Regions from separate parts of the Homo sapiens genome. Here region 1 is linked to region 2. The links are contacts of gene promoters, found by promoter capture Hi-C in human tissues and cell types (Jung and others, 2019). All regions are on one chromosome and are shown on one strand. Each heading gives the region's core, a stretch centred on a gene start or on the middle of the fragment in contact. The rest is flanking DNA. Distances are from core to core; before and after follow the strand shown. Region 1 overlaps CACNA1C (calcium voltage-gated channel subunit alpha1 C). Region 2 holds the start of TEAD4 (TEA domain transcription factor 4).

Evidence for each region. Contacts are between HindIII fragments. The study calls those that stand out against the background at their distance.
Region 1: a contact is called between a fragment that was not itself captured here and the fragment with the promoter of TEAD4 in region 2, in 1 of the 25 tissues and cell types used here (spleen).

What each region holds. Positions count from the first base shown.
Region 1 is chr12:2,682,014-2,688,804 of GRCh38, reverse strand. CACNA1C (calcium voltage-gated channel subunit alpha1 C) reads right to left here. Exons shown (of 47, transcript NM_000719.7): 43 at 6,127-6,255; 44 at 2,963-3,069; 45 at 2,536-2,639; 46 at 26-358. The region is part of intron 3 of CACNA1C-AS1 (CACNA1C antisense RNA 1); the gene reads left to right. Among named protein-coding and RNA genes, the nearest start is that of CACNA1C-AS1, 5.7 kb to the left of the region's middle. The HindIII fragment of the contact is 6,250 bases long and covers 2,052-6,791 here.
Region 2 is chr12:2,957,212-2,963,712 of GRCh38, reverse strand. It overlaps TEAD4 (TEA domain transcription factor 4), which reads right to left and starts at 4,316. Exons shown (of 13, transcript NM_003213.4): 1 at 4,232-4,316; 2 at 3,673-3,765. LOC124902859 (a long non-coding RNA gene) reads left to right here and starts at 3,665. Exons shown (of 2, transcript XR_007063159.1): 1 at 3,665-3,972; 2 at 5,488-6,115. RefSeq lists an enhancer at 3,411-4,146. The HindIII fragment of the contact is 29,957 bases long and covers 1-6,501 here.

The DNA of each region.
Region 1 (6,791 bases), core at 3,927-6,426, 280 kb after region 2:
CCCTGCCCATCTGCGAGTCACCTACCGCTTCCACCAGGCTGCTGGCACTGCCGTGGAACTGCCTCCCTGGGGCCCCAGCCTGGCTGGGCACCATGAGGGAGACGGGCCGGACTCTCCGGGCGGCGCTGCTGCCCCCGCCACCGGGGGTGGTCTCAGCCCAGGAGCCGCAGTGGATGGATGGGAAGCTGCTGTTGAGTTTCTCACTGGACTCGACCCCCTCAAGCCGCAGGGTGGGGACGGGCTGTGGGGGCCAGCCTCGGCTGCCAGGTGTGGCTGGTGGGGTGGCAAAAGGCCTAGGGAATGAGGCAGGGGAATGGCTTCTCTGGAGGAGGGGGCTCAGGCCTGCCACTGCCAATGCCTGCGGACACACAAGGAGTGTGAGTTAATAGGAGTGGCCGACCCCAAACAAGGCAGGCCCCTGCTTCTGAGCAAGCACTGCTTTGCAGCTGCTGTGTCCAGCTAGCTCCACCTGCCTGGTATTCCCATGCCATTATTTTCCCCTGTCGGTCCTATCTCAACCTGGCATGACTTTCAACTATCTCAAAATACATCTTAGGATCATCTGGGTCTGAAGTGATCTCTTTCTCCTGTAACTTCTGAAAGCTGGGATTGGGTGAAGTCGTGGTAACCTGCTTTTAGCCCTGGCCTGGTCACCTGTCAGCTGTGCATTCTCTCGCTCTTGGTTTTGTCCTCAATAGAATGGAGAGCAGGGTGAGGCCTGCATGTCTGTAAAGCCAGAAAACGAATGCTGTCTATCCATCTGCCCTGTGGGGCTGGTGTGAGGCTCAAGCGCAATGAGGTCTGTGAAGAAGCGCTGTGCACCTCACAAAGAGTTGGGAAAACCAGTATTTGTGGTTTTAGTTCTCACAGTTAATGGGGCCATTCATAATGCCCTGCCAGTCTCTAGCTCAGGTTGTCTTTGAGCCATTGTTAAATCCGGTGCTGTATTGTGATTAAAAGATTCAGGGCTGGGAGCAGTGGCTCATGCCTGTAATCCCAGGACTTTGGGAGGCCAAGGCGGGCAGATCACCTGAGGTCGGGAGTTCAAGACCAGCCTGACCAACACGGAGTAACCCAGTCTCTACTACAAATGCAAAATTAGCCAGGCATGGTGGTGCATGCCTGTAATCCCAGCTACTTGGGAGGCTGAGGCAGGAGAATCACTTGAACCCGGGAGGTGGAGGTTGTGGTGAGCCGAGATCGTGCCATTGCACTCCAGCCTGGGCAACAAGAGCAAAACTCTGTCTCAAAAAAAAAAAAAAAAAAGTCACACGGTACGCCCTCTGTCCCTGAATATTCTTGAGCATCCTGAGGGTAGGGACCAGGCCTGTCTGGCTGTTGCCATGACAACCTGCCAGGGCAGAGGCTCTGCAGGGTGAGCTGCTCTGATGGGATGTGCTCCCGGGAGAGAGCGACACTGTGGTGGGGAAAGACCACCTCTAGGGTCACAGAGTACAGGAGGAGAAAGAGATGAAGAGGAGAGTTTCGTGCCTACCAGTACGACAAGAACAGATAGGTGAAATCGACTTCTAGAAATCTTTTAAGATAGCACACACAGTGTCCCCACATCCTTCCACCTCCTGCCCCTGCCCATGGTGGTCCTCAGCCTGGGGCTCCTGGGTCCCTGGGAATCTGAGAAAAGTGTAAGGCCATATTCATTATTTCAGAAAGCCCAGTGGAAGACAACACCACACAGGCTAAGAAAACCTGTTTATTTTTTGGAGCTGAAGTACTATCAACTCAGCCAGGCCACACTGGCCATCTCATGCTGATTATGACTTTTGATTGGCAGTTGAATGCCTTTGGGTACAAAGCATAGGTCTATTTAAAACATAGGTCCATGCTATAAAAGAGTATAACTTTAATAAGGTCAGAATGTTGGGAAACCCAGGTTTAGACCTCAGTTTGCCTGGGGTTAATAGACTGGCCTTAGATAACACTGAAGTTCAAAGATACTAAGGCATGTTTGGTCCTGGCATCTTGGATTTCACTGTCTCAGCTGGAGTCAGCCATGCCAAGAGACATTTCATTTATGGAATCTCCCTGGACCTGCTTCCCACGGATGTCATTCCCTACTCTTGACCATGTTGCTGGTGGGTTCTTTAATCACTTCTTTATGTCACTGGATGGATTTTTGTGTGGCAAAATTTCCAGGTATATTCAAACTCTAGGTACAAGTACATCTTCCTGAGTGCCCTGAGGCATAGGCCAGTGTCAGAGGCGTCAGTGGCATCTGTGGCAGCCTAAGAAGAAAGCTCAGGTGGAACCTGCAGCTGTGGGTCCTCAGGATCACACAAAGAGCTCCTGTGCACCAGCACTTCCTAGGCCCCCACCTGCGATGCTGCAGACCTTGCCGTGGCCCTCACCTGCACAGGAGTGTGAAGCCCTACAGGGATGGCTCTTAGGGCAGGGGCAGGACGTGCCAGCCATCTGAGACAGGCAAGACCCACTGAAGTCTTCAGGATTTGTCCGTCACCCTGGGGACTGTCTGGCCTGCTGGCAGGTGACAGTGGCCTGTCCAAAAGTGTGAGCTACCTGATGATGAACCAGATGCAAGGGCAGGACTGTCTTCTGAGAGATGTCTCCCCCTCGGTCCTTCTGTCGCTTCAGACATTCCAGGTGGAAGGAGGCCCTTCGACCTGCAAAGCCAGCCAGAGAGCCACCATCAGGGCAGGAAAACAGGGCACTGGCCTGTGACAGTTTACACCCTGGTGGGGTGCCAGGAGCAGTAACTATGGCCCGAGACGCTCCTCCTTTCCCCTCCCCTCGTCTGAGACGTATTCTGGTGTCCAGGGCTCATCCCTGCACACCCTGCCTTTGGAATGTTGTCTCCTTGCTTTGGAAATGCCCCACTGTGTGGGGCTGATTTGAGGCAGGCCACAACGATTTCCCAATCATCCCTGACCAGTGTTCTCTAGGGAGTAACCGCCGACCACATCCAGAGAGCGAGCGGTGCATTTACCTAGTGAGGCAGAGCGGAGGAAACCCCTCTTCGGAGATTGCCGGATGTCCCTCTTGTCCTCCTCTGGGAGCGTCAGTTGCCGATTTTCGTCATCCTGGTAGGAGAGCCTGGAACAGAGAGCTCATGGGGCTTGTTCCTGGAGGCTGAGAAGTGGCCACCCACAGGGACAGCTGCACCCCCGGAAAGCACTTTGCTCTGATCCTTAGTGAAGGGACGCACACTTTGTGCTTACATGCAGGTTTGGGGAATTGCCACCCCAAGAAGTTCTGGCCTGCCCCTGACGTCTTCCAGGCCTGCTCAGTGGGAATGGCCAGCTCCTCACCCGCAGCCTGTCTCATAAGCCTGCAGTTCTGACTTGGGGCAGTGAAGGCACTCTGGGGTCAAAGGTGTTGAGAAAGCGGAAAGAATCCTAGGCCCATGAAGTTCTTTTGGGGAATGGCCTTGGCTCCCGTGTTTGCATGAGCTGATGCTGTTTTCCCCAGTGACCCTCAACTTTCACCCAAACTTATGCCCGTCCCCCGATTTCTCCCGCCCTGCCACCCCCTCATCAGCAAGAGCACATAAGCAGCTGCCTACAACCACTCTACGGTCACTCAGTAGGTGAACAGCAGGGCTGTGAGGGACCTCATGGGGCATCTAGTCTATGGCTTCCAGGCCTTTGATGGAAACTCGATGAGAAGTAGATTTGACAGCTTCTCATCATGCACAGACACACCTGATGGAATGAAACCTCATAGCCTTTGGTTACCCTCGGTGCATGCGTTGCACCCTGGTGAGTCCCAGTCCACTTTAGTCTGTTCTATTTTTATTAAAATTTTGATTCACAATCTCTGCTGGGTCAGCCTGCAGTTCAAGAAGCACAGCTGCATTCCAACCTCATTCCCAGATGAGACCACTGACTCACTGGTCCCTGGTGCCACCCCACACCTCTGAGGGTGACTCCATGCCTGCTCATGGTACAGCACAGAGACTTGGATGATTTATAGATGTGCAGGAAGGCTGGTAGAGTGCAGACCGCAGTATTTATACCTTCAAGACTAGCTCTTACTCTCAGCTAGCTAAGGCCTCCCTATTGTATTTTCTTCTTATGCAAATCACCCTGGCTCTTGCAGATCCAGCTTCCATTTCACCTTGTGCGTGGTACCAGTTCAGGTCACCCTGCCCTCAACTTTCTCTGAACGCCTGTACCCCTGGGGGTTGTACCACTCTGGGGGTAGTGAGAAACTCTGTGTTATCTTCCTCTCCTGAGACCCTCTTAGTTTCCTAGTTTGTGGAATTTCCTTGAGGATGGAGACTGGGTTCTTAACAACCTAGCAGAGTGCCTGGTGCACCAAGCACTCTAGAATAACCGAAATAGTTTAAAATATATGCTCTTCCTGATTTCTAGGGTAGGTGGTCAGGCATTCGTTTGTATTCTCTAAGAATCAATTTAGAGACAGTTATCTCATAAGGAGCTTCAGGTATTTCCCTTTTTTATATTGACCGTGTTTCACTGAGTCAGAAAAGTAGAAGGCCTGTCACCCCCACCGTCCCATTTTGCTGATGGGGACACGAAGGCACAGGGCAGTTGAGTGATTTGTCAAGTGCCGCTGGTTGGGACTCTTTCCATGCTTTTCCTTACTCACTCGATTCTTCTTTCTATGCTGGGGAAAAGGAGGTGCTTCTGCTACTCTTCCCATCCAGTTCCCGAGCAGAAAGCACTGGACCCCAGGAAGCCGCATGCTGTGCTGGCCTGGCTGCCATTCTCCCCACACTCCTCAGGGTGGGGCACCTGGTGTCCCCTCCCACCACCTCCAGCCACACCTTTCCTGTCTTCAAAAGCCTGCAAGGCTAGTCCTTCCTCACTCTGAAGTCCTTTCAGGAACTGAATGGACTGACATGCTGGGAGGGGTCGGTGAGGGCTTCCCTCCCGCCCTGGGCCCCCGTGGGGCTCCTCCCTGTCTGCATCGGCAGCTCCAGGGTTCCCTGGCGGGGCTGAGAGAGGACACACCCTGCATCGTGCCTGGCCACGCTTCACTGTGCTGCCGTTCCAGAGTGGGACAGTGGCTCCCAGCAGGTGGCACAGCCCCCCAGCATCCCAGGTTCTTGACATGCCTGCCCTCCAGCTCAGAAAATAATAGAGAAGTGGGAGCTTCTCTCTAAACCCCTGGAAAAGTGTCCATCCAAGGAGCAGGCACACCTGCCGCTGGCCTGCCTGTCCCTCCAGAGGGCCCATTTTCAAGTGGCTGCACGCAAGCCCATGGGACCCAGGCATTACCCCCTGGGGAAAACCCCATGCCTCAATTTCCCTTTCTACAAAATTGAAATGACATATGCCCTCTCTGTCTCAGAGGCCTGTTGTGAGTCATGTATACAGTAACAGATGAGACAGGGCTTTGAGGGTGAAAAGAGCCAGAAAAGCTTCGGAAACACTGTGTCTCAAACTTCTGTGGATGTCACTCTGTGTCTCAAACTTCTGTGGATGTGACTCAGAGTCATAAAGATGTTTCTCAAGGAGACCCCCAGATAGCCACATCTGTTGGCAATTAAGCAAGTGTTTCCCAGCACAGCGCTTACCTTTGTGACGTTTGACGCATTCTGATAGTTTCTGATATTGTGCTGTGCTGCACCTGCTTTTAAGGGCTAGTCATTAGTGACCAAATGGATGTCACCACCTTCTAAAGGATCTAGAACTGCAGCTAAAAATACTCTAAGAATGGCAGCAAGGACAAAAATCTCAGGCCTGGCTTTGCCACCAGTGCCCTCTTCTGGGCAGCTTCATTATAAGCAGTGTCTTGAAACACTTGTTTAATTATCTATATATGTATGTGCATACTGAGTCTCACCAGAAAATATATTTATGACTGTGTCTTACAGCCTACAATGTTTATAAAACAATGTTCAGAAATTTTCCTGGCGAGGAAACCCCAAGCTAAAAAGGGCATCGTGTATGTGTGTGTTGTGTGTGTCTGTGTGTGTGTGTGGTGTGTGTGTGTTTGTGTGTGTTGTGTGTTGGGGGGCTCCCATTTCACTGAGGAGATGAAAGAGGCGGTGCAGATGTTTTCTCTGTGATCTCCTCTCCTCCTGCAATCAGCCCCAGAGGAGGGATCTCAGGGACCTGCCTCTGCCTCCCCACATTTGTTCCCACACTTGGGTCAGCCTCAGCAGAGGGCAGCAGAGCTCACATCTCTGTGGAGAGCAGGCTGGGCTCACTGCAGGCCTCCGTGTCATGGTTCATCTTCACTTCATAGGTCTCATCCTGAGACGTCTCCTCCTGACCCGCCATGGCTGCCTGGCTCTCCCGGGAGTGGCACCTACAATATCCAAGATGAAGAAAAACATCAGAAACTGCCAACCTTCCTCCACTTCCTTCAGCAAGTAAAGCATCACACACGCACACACATGCAGGTGTACACACGTGCACAAACACAAGCACACACACGTGAACAGGCATACAGTTGCTGGTGCTTTGTTCTCCTGTGATTGCTGATGGATCCATAGAAGTGTTCAGATTAGGGTGAGGGTCCCATTTGGGAGAAGGATGTCTGCTGTGGATCCAGGAGTCCTGACCCCAATCCACTTACCCTCTGGTCCAAGTCACTTGGTCCACCTCATGCCTCAGTTTCCCTATGAAATTGGAATGACATATGCCCTGCCTAACTTAGAGGCTGCCCCCCACTCACCTCCAGCTATGACACCTGGGTCTTTGGCATTTGGCATAGCTGAGAAGTCCTTGGCCTCTTATTTTGATGGTGCCCTTGATTCTGACACTGGCACCCTGGGGTAAAGGCACAGAGAGGAAGCCTCACCTAGAGGGGTTTGCTCTCCTGAGCAGAAGGCAGTGAGCCTG
Region 2 (6,501 bases), core at 3,067-5,566:
CCAGATCACACAGGTGTGATTAGAATCTCCCAGATAGTAGCGGGAAAAACCAAAAGCAAGGGAAGAACCGTCATCTCAGAAAGCGTCCAGGCAAAAGTGGAATTAGAAGATAGGAGCTGGAGACCGTGTTCTCCCCAGTGACAAAGCCCTGCCCCCACCTCCACCTGGGCCCTCCTGGCTGCTGACAGCCCCCTCACCCCCCTTTACTGGACAGCAGCTGTTCAGCTCCAATTTCAGAGCTTTAAAGGGAGCTGTCGTCCAACCCCGGCCAACAAAGGGTCATGGGGGCAAAGGAAGACAGGCAAGGTAAAGCCACCCTCACAAGCCCTGAATTTCCAACTGCCACTGGACTGACCTCAACTGCAGGAAAGGCAAGGTCCAAAGCTGGGGACCAACGTCCTCCACTTCCACTGGGAAGGAGAAGGAGGAGCCACAGGTTTGGCAACAGGCATTGCTTTGTGACAGTCACCGGGGCAAGACTCCAGAGTGGAAATCAAAGGAGGTTGTGACATTTGCAACCCAGGAGATCTAAAAAGATAGGGAGAACCTTCACCTGCCGGCTCATCAAGGGGAGAGGAGGGTGTGTTTTAAAGACCCGAGGGCCCCTTCCCGACTCCACAGATTCTACAGTGAGATGGCTCCTTCCCCAGAACAGCTATGTGCTTTCTGCCAGGTCGGAGCAGAGTATTTCTGCCTCCTACCAACCTTATCTGAGCGACAAGGCATGGCCCAAGTCAGTCTGCTCCAGCTTCCGCGCCTGTTGGATGAAGGCGGCTAGGGGGAGTAGGGGGTGTACAAGCACTGCAATCCACAGGGCAGGAGACAGAACGCCAAGGGGAGAGCATAGGTTCTAATCCCTGCTCTGCCACTCACCAGGGTTGCGGCATTAAGCAAGTTACTGTCCCTCTAGGAGCATCAGTTTCCCCATCTTTAAAATGGGAGACTTAGGCCAGGCGCAGTGGCTCACGCCTGTAATCCCAGCACTTTGGGAGGCCGAGGCGGATCACCTGAGGTCAGGAGTTCAAGACCAGCATGGCAAACATGGCGAAATCCCGCCTCTACTAAAAATACAAAAAACGGCTGGGAGTGGTGGCTCATGCCTATAATCTCAGCACTTTAGGAGGCCAAGGTGGGCAGATCACCTGAGGTTGGGAGTTGGAGACCAGCCTGACCAACATGGAGAAACTCCGTCTCCACTAAAAATACAAAATTAGTGGGGCACGGTGGCGCACGCCTATAATTCTAGCTACTTGGGAGGCTGAGGCAGGAGAATCGCTTGAACCCGGGAGGCAGAGGTTGTGGTGAGCCGAGATCGCACCATCGCACTCCAGCCTAGGCAACAAGAGCGAAACTCCATCTCAAAAAATATATATATATATTTATATTTATATATATATTTATATATTTATATTTATATATATAAATAAATATATATAAATATATATATATGAAACTAGCCGGCCGGGAGGCTGAGGCAGGAGAATCGCTTGAACCCAGGAGGCGGAGGTTGCAGTGAGCCAAGATCATGCCACTGTACTACTGCCTAGGCGACAGAGCGAGACTCCGTCTCAAAAATAAATAAAATAAAATAAAATAAAAATAAAGTAAAATAAAATAAAATGGGGGACTTAGATGCTGACATTAGGGTATCTAATAATGTTCAGCAAGCTCACCCTGGGGCCAAGGCAAAACTGGAATCAGAAAATAGAAGCTGGCACTCTGTTCTCTGGTGACAAAGCCCTGTCTGTCCCCCTCCCTCCTGACCTGGGCCACTAGGACCCTGGATTCCTAAGGACGCGGAACACAGCGTAGGGCCTGGCTCACAGTAAATGCTCGATTCATGTTTGCTAAATAAACATGATAGACAGGGCAAGGTTTCTCAAATGGTGCTCAGAGAAACACTAATTCAAAAAACACTAATCCCTAGGAAAAAGGGGTTCTTACTGAAATAAGCGAAGGAAACACTGGATACAACAGCTATCCTATGGAGTCCATGGGATGTGCCAGGCACTGTGCTGCTGGGTGGGGGCTCTGCAGACATCGACTTTTCACAAGAAACTTTCTGGACAGAAAAGCTCCGCTCGTATTACCCACCAGGAAACAGCCTGAGAGCCTTAAAGGTAGTGAGAGACTCAGGATTTGTACCCTGGTCTGCCTGACCCCAAACCTGTGCCCTTTCCACTCCATCAGTGCTGCTTTTAGACCAGTCGCACACCAGGCCGAAGAGGTGAGAGGGTGAGGTGTTTCCCACAAGAACATCCACATCCTCAGGATGGATGGAGGAGCAAGGACGAGAACCCCCAACCCCCGAGACAGTTTCTGGCTCCTTCCTTCCAAGAAGCCCTACACATGATATCCACGTTGAAGCCCTCATGCAACAAGCTACTCATTCCTCTTCTCAAAGGAAGTGCTGAGTGTCTGGCAAGTTGGAAAGAATGAGGGATTCTTCTACTGGGTTACCTGGTCAGCTCCGAGGAGAGTTAAACCAGGAAAAGTAGTTCAGGCTGGTATACCTCCCTGTTTGTCCTTGAGGGCAACTTAAAAGCACTATTTACACAAGTCTCCAGATTCAAAACTGTCTCCTTTTCCCGGGGATCCACCCCGACAAACCTTCCCAAATCTCACCCGCCCATCCCATCCCCCAAAGGCAAAGATCTCAACTTCCTTCAGCCTCCTACCAGCTTTTTGACCTATTCCAGGCAAGCACAAGACCCTCGCCCTGAGAAAGTCAGCCTCCTGGCTCCAAGAGGCAGGTGGAGCCAGCTTCCTTCCAGCTCTGCCCGGTCCAGGGGAAACGGAGCCTGGAGGCCACACACTCCAAAACCACAGTCAAATTATCCCTGCACTCAGGCAACCAGAGACACTGACTCTTGCCCACGGCTATGTAGGGAGGAAGAACAGTCCTAGCCAGAACCAACATCCTCGAAGAGAAACACATACTCAAGAGACGTGGCATCACACACCTACTCAGAGATACTCACTTTCAGACAGCCCCTTCTCACGCAGACATATACACACACTCTGTCACTCACGTTCAACACAAACAAATACGCCCACTGGAAGCCAAGGTGAGCCACACGTGAACAGACATCACCCACACAGAGACTCAAAGCGAGGGGGACTCGCAGTCAGGTGTCACACAGACTCAGCACAGACGCAGTCAGTCCGCGGGGCCTCAAGTGCCTCAGCACAACGGGGGAAATGTTCACTTTGGGGTTTGAAAGTTCTGCTCCCTGGATCGATCCACTAGTCCCCATCAGGAAACACAGCAGCTTCCCAAGCCCTGAGGTGTAGGACCTTTTGCAGGGGTCCCCCGACTTTCGCATCGCCTTTGCACTTAAAACAGGCAGTCCGCTTACCTCCAGGTCTCTCCCTTCCAGGCTCGAAAAGGGCCCAGCAGAAAAGAGGCATGGGTGCTGGGTCTCTTCTGTTGCCGATGCTCTCGGTTCTGCCTCTCCGGTCCTTTCCACACCGGCCTCCCTTTCCCCCAAAGTCCCGAGTGTCCACCCCCCTTACCCGCCCCTGGAGCCGCTTCGCCTCCAGCAGCCTCAGTCGCGCCGCCTCCACGTGCCTCGCTCTTCCCAGTCTCGTCCCGGGAGGGAGCTCCGCACGCACCGCGCAGACTCCTGCCCTCCGGCAAAGTCCTACCAAGTCCCCGCGCCCCAGCCTTACCGGTCCCAGGGTGCGGGAAGGTGGGATGGGTGCGCTAAGCCAGTTCCAAGGAGTCCGCCCCGAGCGCCAACTCTTCCGGCCGCGGCGATCGTTCTGCGGGGACGACAGGGCGTCAGCGCGCAGAGCCGGGCTCCGGCCGGGGCCGACGGGCGGCGCAGTGAAGGCGGGGCCGCGGGGCCAAGCCCACCCCGCGCCGACCGGCCCCGGTGCGCCCAGCGGAGCGGAGCGGAGCGCGCGGAGGGAGGAGTTTTCCCAGAATGGGACTGACGGGAAAACACGGGGATCCCTATTCCTGGAGGAGTGAGTCAACCGGGAGCGAGGAGGGGAGCGCGGGGCGGACAGGAGGGAAGCGGGAGAGGGGCAGCGAGCAGCGCCGGAGCGCGGAGGGAAGCCAGAGGTCGGGACGGAGCGCGTCGGAGCGCAGAGGTCCAAGGCGGGAACGCGGGCGGCGGAAAGAAAAGAGCAGCCGAGCACGCGGCGCGAGCGGTCGGCTGCGGCGGCGTGGGGCGCGCGGCCCGTGAGGGCGCCGGCGGGTGCGGCGGGCGCGGGCGCCTCTCACCTGGCGGGACGCGGCGGCGCCGGAGCTGCGGCCCTCCCGCCCCCTGGCCTCGAGTGTGCGAGGAGGACGCTGGAATGCGCGGAATGAGGGCTGGAATGAGATGCGCGCCGCGGCGGGAGGGAGGGAGCCGGAGGGAGTGGCGGCGGGGCCACCGGCACCTCGGGGAGGAGACTGCGCCGCGCGCGGGCGGGCGAGGGGCCGGGCCGCCGGGGCGGGGCGGGGCCGGGCCGGGCCGGGGCGGGCGGCGGGGGAGGGGGCCGAGGGACGGCGGGGACCCCTCCACCCGGGCCTCGGCTGCGGCCCCCACGCCCACTAGCCCTTCGATCTCTCCGCTCCGACTGTTTGGCTGCTCGTTGCGCGCCCCGCGCCCTCCCCTCCTGGCGGGGTCCCGACTCCCTTTCCCAGGAGCCGAGAGCCTTCCTCTTCGCCGGGGTGGGGCTGTCCCGGGGGCGGGGGGGTGGACGGGGCCCAGACTCCCGCCCCGCCACCCGGCGTCCCTCCGCACGAGTCCCTGGGAGGCCGGGGAAGGGGCGGGCTCCCGGCGCGCAGGAAGGGCTGCTCCCTTCCTGCGGCTCCCACCAAAGGACACTTGCTCCGGGGAACCAGGAAGCAGGAACTCGCGGGCTCCATTCCCAGATCCGCTGCCAGTGCCCCCTCGCTTGCCCTCCCCGGCTTTAGCTCTTTCCGTTTTTCTCTCCTGCCCCTTGGGCATCTGTAAAACCGCCACTACGAGTAAACCACATGGGAGAAAGGGCACTCGGTTTGAAGTCCATGTGGCATGCCATGGGACGCCTTCTGGGCTCAGTGACTCAATGAATATTCATCTAAGATGTGTGATGAGTCCAGATACTGTGAAGATCAGGATCAGCCGTCAGCACCTGCCCTCAAAGAGCTCAGAGTTTAGCTGGGGAGGCCTCGGTGTATACTGCCATCGGTGAGAGTCTGGACTTCAGACACACATGCCCAGGAGTCTCTTATTGGGGCAGGAGGTGCTGGAAACACGCTGGGCTCCTTGTTTGGAGACGCTTAGGACAAACGGGCTTAAAGCAGTGTGCTGGCAGGTAGCGCCATCATCTACCTGGCCAGGAGACTGAAACCAAAGGACTTTTGGCTTTTTCCAAAAATCAAATCCAACCTTTTCTGGGGCATTATCACTTAGCCTTGTGTTGGGTGGTTGTCTAGATCTTATCTCCCTTGCCAAACAGAAACTTCCTTGAAGACAGAGTAATGTCTGATTTATCTTATCTTTCACACAGATCCAGCCTGGTGCCTGGGATAGGGAAGTGCATGATAAATGCTGCATAAATGAAAAACAATTGCTACCGTGGAAGATATTGAAAGGAAAGTGCTATCGATGCCAAAGTTGTTTCCAAGAGAGGTATTCCAAAAGTGTTTCAAGCAATGACTGAGCTAAGCATCCAGTCCTGCAAGGTGAAGGCGTTGAAGACGCAGCCCTCATTTGAATAGATGAATTGTGGTATTCTTGTTAAATAATGAATCATATCAAGGCTTGGTCACACCTCATGCACATGAAAAGACCAAAACGCAAGGCAGCATATCAGCGCCACGTGAAGTACACACTAAGCACCAACTATTTAATTCAGCAATCATGGGGGGCCCGGTGGCTCACGCCTGTCATCTTAGCAATTTGGGAGGCCGAGGCAGGTGGATCGCTTGAGCCCAGGAGTTCGAGATCAGCCTGGGCATCATGGTGGCCTGCACCTGTAGTCCCAGCTACTCAGGAGGCTGAGGTGGGAGGATAGTTTGACCCCAGAAAGTTGAGGCTGCAGTGAGCCGTGAATGCACCACTACACACCAGCCTGGATGACAGAGCGAAACCCTGTCTCAAAGTAATTAATAATAATTATATTAATTCAGCAATCATTGGAGTGTTTGTTGACTTTGACACCGCACTAAGGGAAGGAGTAGGTCCCTTTCCTCAAGTAGTTCCAGTCTAGGTGAGAAGACAGACAATTATGCAAAGTTCAATGGGAACCCAAGGGAAGGAACAGTGAAATCCAATTACAGTGCATTTGATCTAGCTCTTGAGGATAAATGAGGGTTTGCCAAACTGAGACTGGAAACCCCATTTAAGACACATGGAATAGCACCTACAAAGGTGAGGCAGCCAGTCTGCTGGTGTGTTTAGCGAAGCTATGTAAACTGGTGTGGCTGGAGAATAGAGATGTGGATAATAAGATTGAAGGAAGTGGATACCAGACTTTGAAGGTCATTGCGTGCCATGCTGAAGAGTTAGGCATCAAAAAAGA